Linked DNA regions of Homo sapiens: regions 1 and 2 are each linked to region 3. The links are contacts of gene promoters, found by promoter capture Hi-C in human tissues and cell types (Jung and others, 2019). All regions are on one chromosome and are shown on one strand. The core of a region is centred on a gene start or on the middle of the fragment in contact, and the rest is flanking DNA. Distances in the headings are between cores, read along the strand shown.

Region 1 (3,411 bases), core at 900-3,399, 340 kb after region 3:
TTCCAGAACACAGCCCAAGGCTGCCACAGAGAGGTGCTGTTTAGTGACAGAAATATTTGTCAGGAGTGGCCGGAGGAATGGCCACTACATACTTCCTCTTTCTCACCAACTGCTACCATCAGCCTCCACTGGCTGCCTCTCAAAAGCCTGCAGAACCTCCGGTGGCAGGAGTGTTCTCTGAGTCATTCCCTCAAGAGAAAAGGGAAAGTGGGCCTGACTCCTGGGCCTGAAGAAGCCTCACAGTGCCCTCAGCCAGCCCTTGCTGCAGAGCAAAAGCCAAGGATTGAAATCCTGGACAGCCTACTCTTCACCCACACCTGCACACAGTGAATACTCTTCACCCACACCTGCACACAGTGAATACTCTTCACCCACACCTGCACACAGTGAATACTCTTCACCCACACCTGCACACTGTGAATACTCTTCACCCACACCTGCACACAGTGAATACTCTTCACCCACACCTGCACACAGTGAATACTCTTCACCCACACCTGCACACTGTGAATACTCTTCACCCACACCTGCACACAGTGAATACTCTTCACCCACACCTGCACACAGTGAATACTCTTCACCCACACCTGCACACAGTGAATACTCTTCAGCCACACGTGCACACAGTGAATACTCTTCACCCACACCTGCACACAGTGAATACTCTTCACCCACACCTGCACACAGTGAATACTCTTCAGCCACACCTGCACACAGTGAATACTCTTCAGCCACACCTGCACACGGTGAATACTCTTCACCCACACCTGCACACGGTGAATACTCTTCAGCCACACCTGCACACGGTGAATACTCTTCAGCCACACCTGCACACGGTGAATACTCTTCAGCCACACCTGCACACGGTGAATACTCTTCACCCACACCTGCACACAGTGAATACTCTTTAGCCACACCTGCACACAGTGAAAGCACTCCCTCTTACTCCAGAAGATGGCACATGGCGGTGGGGGGAGCACCAACACTCATCTCAAAAGGCACCCAGGACTGGGAAAAGGAAGTGATGGCTTCGTATTTAAAGCATGCCTTAAAAAAACAACTTTCTGTATGCACGCACGTACACACACACACAAATATGCATATACACACACACAAACATAACTGATTTTATGTATGTGTGTGTAGGTATATACACATATACATGTAAAATTGATATCAAATTAGATCCACATGGTTTCTGGATTTTTGCCCACACTGTATTATGAGCTGGCTGTCTCCCCTTCCCTGCCTGCAGCTCCAGACTAACTCTCTTCCCTTCCTAGAGTCTCACTCTGGGTTCCAGCCACCTGTCTTCAAATGTACAATGGCCTCTCAGACCCCCCCAGGTCTTGGCCACAGCTTTCCACTGCCTGGAACACTTTCCCTCTAGCAGTCACTCCCATTCCTCTTTGTGGTGAGCCTCAGCTCAGACATTGCTTCCACCAGGAAGCTTTCCTGATCCCTGCATCACTTCACAGGGTCTCTCCGGACATTTCCCAGCTCGGGCCTTCCTGCACTAGCACTTCATTGCTTGCTGAACGGCCTCCTTCACAACTCTTGTTGGCTGTCTTGTTCACTATTACACAGACTGAGAGCAGCATAAGGGAATTTCCAAGACTAAATCACTTCGTGTCTTCAGTGCCCAGCCACAGTGCCTGGCACCTAACAGGCTCTCCAGAAATGCTTTCCTAACTCACCACGGGAAGTCTCGGGGTCAGAGTCTTCTCGCTTTTCTCGGAGTGACTCCTCACCCAAAAGCTCTTTGCACAGCTCTGCTCCATGTGACCCCTTTTAGCCTGGGTCAGGGCTAGAATGCTGGTGCCGACTTTTAAATCATTCCCAGCCGGGCGCCACGGCTCATGTCTGCAATCCCAACACTCTGGGAACCCAGGTGGGAGGATCACTTGAGCCTAGGATTTGAGACCAGCCTGGGCAATATTGTAAGACCCTGTCTCCACAAAAATACAAAATACAAAATAAATCATCATTCCCTAGGGCCTCTGGCACCTCTATGGGCATAGTCTCCGGCAGGATTTCAGAGGTGCTCTCCAGTGTGCAGAATTGGGGCCTGCTACCCTTCCACTTGTCCTTTCCCAGCTTGCCTTCTGCCGTTGAGGGCTGCAGCCAGCCCCTCTGAAGTGATGGCAATGGGGGCACGCTGCCAAGGGCATAAGATCCATTCTAGACCCAGCTCTGCGCAAACAATTTATGTCACCTTGGGCAAGTCATTCACCCTCCTGGGACTTTTGTTTCCATGCTTATAAAATGAGGCACCGGAGACGAGCCCTGAGTGTCTTCCTGTATGGATGCGACAGCCCTCAGTGCCTCTGTGCTCACAAGCCTTCCAGCCCTCTTCAAGACCACAGCAGGAAGTGGGCATCGTCTGCATGTCCTGAAGATCGCTTCCTGACCTTGACTTATGTCAAGACAACCTGCCTAAAAGTCTGGCTCCGGAAGTAAACCTCACCTAACATGCCTAAACACCAAGATGGAAAATCTCTTCCACCTAAGGCTGAAAAAATTAAAAGCAACCTAGGTAGACAACTCCAGAAATCAGGGTACTAAGCAGTAGCACACCTCAGAAACATGACAACCCTGAACTCAGGGTGCCCTCAAGAAGGATCATCTCCCTCCCTAGACTTCATTTACTCACAATTTACAAGCTCCCGGCCCCTCCCAGACTCTCCACATACCATAAAAATGTGGCCACAAGGCGCAGGGAAAGGCACAGTCTATTTCCAACAGGCCCCAGGGCTCTGCAGCCTTAGTTTGAGCAGCCCGGACTAGGCACAGCTCCTGTTAAGGTAAGTGGCACACCTAGTTCCTAGCACTTGCCCCCACCTGCAGCATGATTCTCTCAGCTCGGCGAGTCTGCAGGCTTCCAGGTGGGGAGCTGCCTGCCTGCCTGCCGCGAGCAGGTAATCCATGAAGAGAAACTGAGTTGGCAAAGCCTAGCAAGCAGCAGTTTCAGCCTCCCTGCCCAGGGTGGGGGTGGGTGGGGTGAGGGGGGAGCAGGGAGGCAGATACAGGCAGACCAGTTTAACAGGTCCTTATTTCCACCACCCCACACAGCTGGTGCCTTCTTCACCAGTTCAATAAAAGGAGATTCAAAAGTCAGATGACACTTTCATACCACACATCACAAAGACCAGAATCAAGGAAGAAGAAAATGGTCATCCTTCTCACTCTTCCCTCACTCACAGTGGCCTCGGAAAACATGGTCCCTAGTCTCACAGTTCATGGGTCAATCAGGAAAAGCGACTGATCTGCTCTGAGATGCTCAAAGGAAAATCTGGGTCCTCACCATCATCAGGCGCTGAGCTGGTGTGAAATCAGTTCTTCCCGTGCCATGCTCCTGGGCTTTTCTCCCACTATAAATAACTCCAGCCTTCTGACAGACCACATGATCTC
Region 2 (3,239 bases), core at 238-2,737, 320 kb after region 3:
GCTGCTTGTTCTCAGGGGAGACCCTTCTGGTATGTGCCCCCTCTTCCTTTCCTAGTCAATGCCTCTTCCACATCTGGACACCCTTCCCATGAATATTACTATGCTGGACTCAGGCAGGGCGCCCCTTAGCAACTCTCTAAAGATCCTATGTTTGAGATGAGAGGAAAGAAAGAGGAGGAGGCAATCCTAGAGTAAAAAGGGGGACAACATACCCGACTGGAGAAAGGGAAAAGGACTACCAGCGACTTCCATTCAGCAGAGCCCACAGCAGAACCTGTCAGGCAGCGAGGGCAAAGTACAGAGGCCGGGAAGAGCCAGGCCTAGGGCGGGGGCTGCCGGCTCAGCCAGCCACCCTTACTCAGCCAGAGCAGGCGACACCTTCCACCACCTCCTCAGTGAAAAGTAGCTAAGCAGCCAGGCCGAGCGGTTCCTGCCTGGGAACCTGGACGGTGTCGCAACCGAAACCACCACTAGCAGAGAGACTGGGTTTGGCAAGGAGAGCAACAGGGACAAAGCCCCGCTGGCTTCTCAAGGGCCAGAGCCTGGTGGTCAGGAAGCGCGTGCAATTCCAGGACAGCACACCAGAAGCAAGGTGGGAGGGAAGGGGCAGGAGGGGAATAGGGCAGGAAGGGAGACAGAGAAAGAGGCGGGTTTAGATCAACTTCCTTCTCCCCTCCCCCTCCCCCCCTCCCCGGAAGTGGGCAGCCCCACCCTCCCCAAGGTGCTTTGCTGGGTAACAGCTGGCGAGAGGTCGAGGAGACTCACTGCAGCCACGGCTGTCATAAAACCCTAGCTCACCTGTGGCAGGTGGGACCTGGGTAGGGGCAGATGACTTTAACAAAGCCTCCAATAGGGCTGGGGAGGAACATGTGTGACTCAGATGTGCTGACCCAGAGTGGCGGCCCTGCCAAAGACCAGCAAACCACCCCCTCAAGAACGAAGTGGGGAGGAGGGTAAGCAGAAACCAGCAAGCTGACAGTGGCGGACGGACCTCCTACTTCCTAAAAAAGCAGTGCTTAACCTTGGAAACATGCACATTCCACTTAGACACAAAATATTTTGAGCATAATTTCAGGGAGTTTGGGGACTCTGTAAAGCCCCCTATGAGGTGTATGTTTTCTAGATTAAGAGCCTTTATCACTGATAGAGCATTCTATCAATGAAAAAATCATATTTAATCCTAGATTTTGCCCAAAAGCTAGAAACAATCCAAATGTCCCTTTTAAGTTCCTTCCAGCCCTGCTTCTGAACGTTCATCCCTAGGTTCTCACTCACCTCCAAGTTTCCAGTCACCAATCCCCTGCCTTACCTTCAAAACAACACTGCTTTCTCAAGGAATTCCAAAGGCCTGGGATTCCTCACACCTTCCTCCTGCTAAGCCCCCACTATCTGGGCACATGGTGAGCACAGGGCAAGCTGGCTGTCTCTCATCTGGAGAAGACTCCCCTTCTAGACCAACGACCCCTGTCTATGTGCTGGTTGCAGCCTTGCCTCTGGTTCTCAGAACAATTTCTCATTCATCCCCTATTCTAGGCTAGGCTCCCTCTCATTAAGGAACTCCGTGACCTTCTCACGTTGGTAGCCATTAACCCTCTAGGGAAGGGCAAAGCTTCCTCTGTGCTCTCACAGCACTTAAGCATATATTCCTGCAAGACCATGCTACTCAGGAGTGGCCAAGAAATGTTTGCCTTACACATGAGCCCTGGCCAACGGATTCAGCATTTCTGATGCTACTGTATGTCCAGCGCTTACACTTTGTTTTCTCCAAACACAGACCTATAGGGTAGGTAGTCTCCCTGTTTTCCATTGAGAAATTGGCATTCAGAGGTTATGAGACTTGCCCAAAATCTCACAGCTTCTCAGTACAGAGCTGGGGCCGGAGCCCAGAGCTTTTGTCACCATTTCAGCACTCTGCTGTTCTTGACAGTCCCCCTTACCAGTTTCTCATCAACCCTTCTTGATGCCTAATCGTGCTCTCATTTCCCCCAAAAGATAAGCCCCTGGCTCCTCCTCCATAAGCTAGGAGGCAGAAGGTATGAAGACTCAGGGAAGGTGCTCGGGACACTGGGAATGACAATGTTTGATTCAGGCCAATGGTGAAGTGCTGTTTAAAGGCCTATCCCAGTGGTCCCACAGCAACCCTTCCTTTTCCCAGCCCCCCAAAAGTGGGCCCTGACTTCAGTGGGCCCACTGGATCCTGGGCTCAAGCTTGCCCGGGCCCTCCGGCCCTTCACTCACTGGTAGACTGAGAACCAGAGCAGGATCAAACAGCTTCATTTTTCTAGTCCCTTCATTTTTCTAGGGCTTTGCAATGTGACAGAAGGACTGTTTCCTCAATCCTATTTGTGGGAGACAGTAAGGGATTTTGTAAACTGAGGAAATACAAAGCACTGACTACAAACAGAAAAGCTGGGAAGAGATAGGGTAGGATTTAGATTAAAAGCCACATGGGGGCCAAGCATGGTGGCCCCCACCATGTAATCCCAGCACTTTGAGAGGCCGAGGCTGGTGGATCACTTGAGGTCAGGAGTTCGAGACCAGCCTAAGCAACATGGCGAAACCCCATCTCCACTAAAAATACAAAAATTTGCTGAGCGTGGTGGCGTACACCTGTAATCCCAGCTACTCGGAGGCTGAGGCATGAGAACTGCTTGAGCCTGGGAGGTGGAGGTTGCAGTGAGCAGAGATTGCACCACTGCACTCCAGCCTGGGCAACAGAGTGAGACTCTGTCTCAAAAAAAAAAAGCCACACGGGGCTGAGCACTGTTGCTCATGCCTTAATCCCAGCACTTTGGGAGGCCAAGGTGGGAAGACGACTTGCGCCTGGGAATTCGAGACAAGCCTGGGCAACAGAGTGAGACCCTCTCTCTCCAAATTCAAAAATTAGCCAGGCATGGTGCCATGGGTCTGTAGTCTCAGCTACTCGGGAGGCTAAGGCAGGATAATCGTTTCAGTCCAGGAGGTGGAGGTAACAGTGAGCTATGATCGTGCCACTGCACTCCAGCTTGGGTGACAGAATTAGACTCTCGTCTCTTTTTTTTTTTTTTTGAGATAGAGTCTCACTCTGTTGCCCAGGTTGGAGTGCAGTGGCGCAATCTCGGCTCACCGCAACCTCTGCTTCCCGGGTTCAAGTAACTCTCCTGCCTCAGCCTCCCGAGTAGCTGGGATTACAGGCGCCCGCCACCACACTCAGCTAATTTTTTTATATTTTTAGTAGAGACGAGGTTTCACCATGTTGG
Region 3 (3,470 bases), core at 763-3,262:
CACCTTGCTCCTCCCTGCTGAGGCCACCTCTCAGGACTTCTCCTGGGGTTATCCCCATCCTGGGCTCGGGGCAGCCCCCTCCTCTGGCTCCAGGCCCCCATGATAGCGCCCTCTGTGCGGCAGCCGGCACGCAGCCCCCATGGGTCAGTCTCACCCGCTGCTGCTCCAGGAGGCCAGGGACTGGCCCGGGGCGGCCAGGCTGAGCATCAGTAGACAGAGCTGATGTGCTTAGGAGTGACAGTATCCCCACCACAGGGAACACAGAGCTAAAGGAACTTGCCCTGGGGTGCCCAGCAGCGGGTAGAGCAGCGGGGTCTGTCTGACTCCAGGTTAAGGCCTCCTGCGTTACCCTCATGCCGTGCCCTGGGGCCACCCAGGTCTTCACCACCCTCTCTCTGTTCCTCACTTCTATTCTCACAGCTGCTCCGGGCCCTGCCCCTGGCAGCTCCCCTCACAGCCTCAGTCTTGTGGCCGGGCCGTTCTGGACCCTATCCTCTCCACAGTCGGACTGACCTCCTCCTGTGCTGCACATGGTGGCCTGGCGGGGTCTGAGGAAGCCTCCCCACCATCACCCACCCCCCACCCACTGGCAGCCCAGGCCCAGGCTCTTGGCCGGGACTGTGGTGGGCCTGTCTTCCGGCTCTGCCTATCGGGGTCTTCCTGCTGCTCTCTCAGGAAGGGGTAGCCCCCACCCCCGGCAGGGAAGGAAGATGAGGAGCCCCCGTGTCACTAGCCCCGTGGTCCTCCATGACTGATACCACAGCTGCTCTGCTGTAACTTCCTGTGGGGGCAGGGCCTTCCCACCCAGGCTGGGCCTGTCACCAACCTGCTCAAAGCTTCCGCCAAGGGGAGGGAGCGTGGGGGCAGGCCCCTGGGTCACCTAGACCCCCTCAGACCTCAGCAATGTGACTTCAGCCTCGGCCCAGACAAGACCACTCCTTCTGCCCCTATTGGTGGCTGAATGGAGGATTGTGGCTGCGTCTGATCCTTAGCAGACCAGCTGCAGCAGAAGGGAGGGAGGGAAGAGGGTGGGAGGGAGAGGAAGTTGGGGAAATGTCTTTTTTGGAACCAAATGATTAAGCTAATGCCTGAGTCACCGTGACACCATTATCGGGAGCTGAGCAGCAGGGATGGCCCGGAAGTGCCCAGAGACACCCGTGGCGGCCGCCCATGGTGCCGAGTTCAGCAAGCGGGCAGCGGACACTCACTGATCTGCTCCACAATCTTCAGGAGCACCCCGCCGATGTGCGACTCCCCAGTGACCCGCAGGGTGACCGACTCGGCCTCTGGGTCCTCCTCTCCCACAAACACCCGCAGCTCCCATGACGAGTCGATGTAGTCCCCGGAGGCTGTCTTCATCCCCGCCATGGCTGCGGCTGCTGCTACAGAGAGTGTGGAAGGAGGCAAGGTGGGCAGGCCCTGGTAGGCCTCCGGGTTTGGGCAGAAGAGCTCTGTGATGCCCTGGACACACCCAGAGGAAAGCCGCTCATGAAGGAGGGCGGGAGTGAGCACCCAGGCCAGCACGCCCGTGGTACCCTCAGACTCTCTCTCCAGCGCTGGCGCTTGAGCCGCGAGGGCCCTCAGAGACCATGTAGTCCAATCCGCTCCCATCCTACAGGCGGGCAGACTGAGGCCGGGTAAGAAGGGGCTCACTCAGGACCACCGTGCTCAATGCCAGCCCACAGCTCACTCCCAGACCCTCAGGGGCAGCTGCCCACTCTGGCCATGGCTTCGTACCCAGGCCAGGAAGTAGTTCCGATCCTGGCCCACAGCTCAGATGCCAACATCACAAACCAGCCAAAGCCTCTCCGGGGAGGTGGAAAGTTCAGGCTGCCGCATGGCGAGAGGCAGGCTGGGCAGAGGCTGCAGGAGGATAAGGAAGAGAAGGGCCCAGGGTCCCAGTGAGGCCTGAGCTTACCTTTCCTGGCAAGGGCTGGGGGCTGCAGGTGGGTCTCGGGCTACACCCCTGTGGGCCGTGGGCTTCCTGCCCTCCTTTCTCTTTGGAGCTTCCTTCAGGGCAGCCCTTGCTTGTGCCTTATCACGAGCAGGGCGGGTTCAGCCCCTCCCCAGGGCGGGCTGGCGCTGGGTGCAGGAAGCACACTGCCAGCCCACAGAGGGTTCCAGGGGCCCCCCCACCTTTGTCCCCAGAGAGCACAGGAAGCTAGGGAGAGCGGGGCTTAGCGACTCAACACCATAAAAACGCCCCCTTCCTCATTTGGAGGGAAGCTCAGTGCAAACTCAACAAGTCCCCCGGCTGTGTGTGTTCAGGGCTAGGTCCACTTTTGTGGGAAGTGTCTGCCATCCTCAGCCTGTCACATGAGGTGGGGACCTTGGGCTTTGAAACATCACTGGGCTGCCGGAGGGAGAGCCCAGGAGTCGACAGAGTGTATCCAGGTTATTTGGGACTCACAGGTTAAATCGGCTCCAGCCTGGCTATCCCTATCAACCAAGGATCCCTCAAGGCCCCAGAGGGAAACAAGTCCATTTTGCAGTTTTTCCTAGCTCCGCGTAGGGCTACCTTCAAACTCATGAACTCAGACCTGCCAGGTGAACAAGTGAACAGTACTTGGCCCAGACCATCCACAACCTCCCGGGCCCTCAGGTCACCCAGCTCCAAACACGACCCCTCCACTGTGCTCCACTTGGATGAGCCTCCCCGAGTCCCCACGAGGCTCACTCCCATCAAGTCCCTGCTTAGGTGACACCTCAGGGGTCTCTGGTGGTCTATACCCTCCTGCTCATCACCTGCCCTAGGATGTGGACTTCAGTAGAGCAAGGCACGTCCGCCACCAGCTCTGCGCAGGACAGCGGCCTTTCCAGTGAACACACTGGGGTTGGAGCATGCAGGGTGGGCAAGCCTGGGGGCGGCAGAGTCCTGCCAATGGGGGAGGCTACCTGAGCATCGCCACTCAGATGGGGAAGGGGGCGGCCTGCCGGGGATTCCCAGGGGAAAAGAAAGCTGATGAAACTAACAGCAGGAAGTCCAGCCAGCTGCTAGTCTCAGCGCCTTCCTAGCCCAGAAAGCAGCACTCTTGGAGCAAATGAGGAAGTTTTACTCCTGCCCCAAAGGCCTCCCCAGTCCAGGAAGAGAGCTTTAGAAAACGCAGCTTGTTGCAACCATGGAAAAGTGTAATTAAAGCTTAGCACCCTAAGTTCTCAGGTAAGAGCCGTGCATTAAAACCATCACCCAGGCCGGGCGCGGTGGCTCACGCCTGTTAACCCCAGCACTTTGGGAAGTCCAGGCGGGTGGATCACGAGGTCAGGAGATTGAGACCATCCTGGCTAACACGGTGAAACCCCGTCTCTACTAAAAATACAAACAAACAAACAAACAAAAAATTAGCCGGGCGTGGTGGCGGGCGCCTGTAGTCCCAGCTACTCGGGAGACTGAGGCAGGAGAATGGCGTGAACCCGGGAGGCAGAGCTTGCAGTGAGCTGGATCACGCCACTGCACTCCAGCCTGGGCGACA

What was found. The method cuts DNA at HindIII sites, captures the fragments that hold promoters and counts their contacts. A contact is called where the count stands out against the background at its distance.
Region 1: a contact is called between a fragment that was not itself captured here and the fragment with the promoter of FERMT3 in region 3, in 1 of the 25 tissues and cell types used here (dorsolateral prefrontal cortex).
Region 2: a contact is called between a fragment that was not itself captured here and the fragment with the promoter of FERMT3 in region 3, in 1 of the 25 tissues and cell types used here (dorsolateral prefrontal cortex).

Annotation. Positions count from the first base shown.
Region 1 is chr11:63,868,803-63,872,213 of GRCh38, reverse strand. All of the region lies in intron 1 of MARK2 (microtubule affinity regulating kinase 2), which reads right to left. Among named protein-coding and RNA genes, the nearest start is that of MARK2, 31 kb to the right of the region's middle. RefSeq lists enhancers at 259-368, 2,268-2,487. The HindIII fragment of the contact is 6,472 bases long and covers 1-3,411 here.
Region 2 is chr11:63,885,938-63,889,176 of GRCh38, reverse strand. The region is part of intron 1 of MARK2 (microtubule affinity regulating kinase 2); the gene reads right to left. Among named protein-coding and RNA genes, the nearest start is that of RCOR2, 30 kb to the left of the region's middle. RefSeq lists an enhancer at 551-660. The HindIII fragment of the contact is 3,056 bases long and covers 1-3,015 here.
Region 3 is chr11:64,205,263-64,208,732 of GRCh38, reverse strand. FERMT3 (FERM domain containing kindlin 3) reads right to left here and starts at 2,012. Exons shown (of 15, transcript NM_031471.6): 1 at 1,919-2,012; 2 at 1,209-1,382. The coding sequence starts at 1,368. RefSeq lists enhancers at 1,364-1,443, 1,764-1,843, 2,278-2,840, 2,744-3,003, 2,841-3,403 and 2 more. The HindIII fragment of the contact is 1,553 bases long and covers 1,989-3,470 here.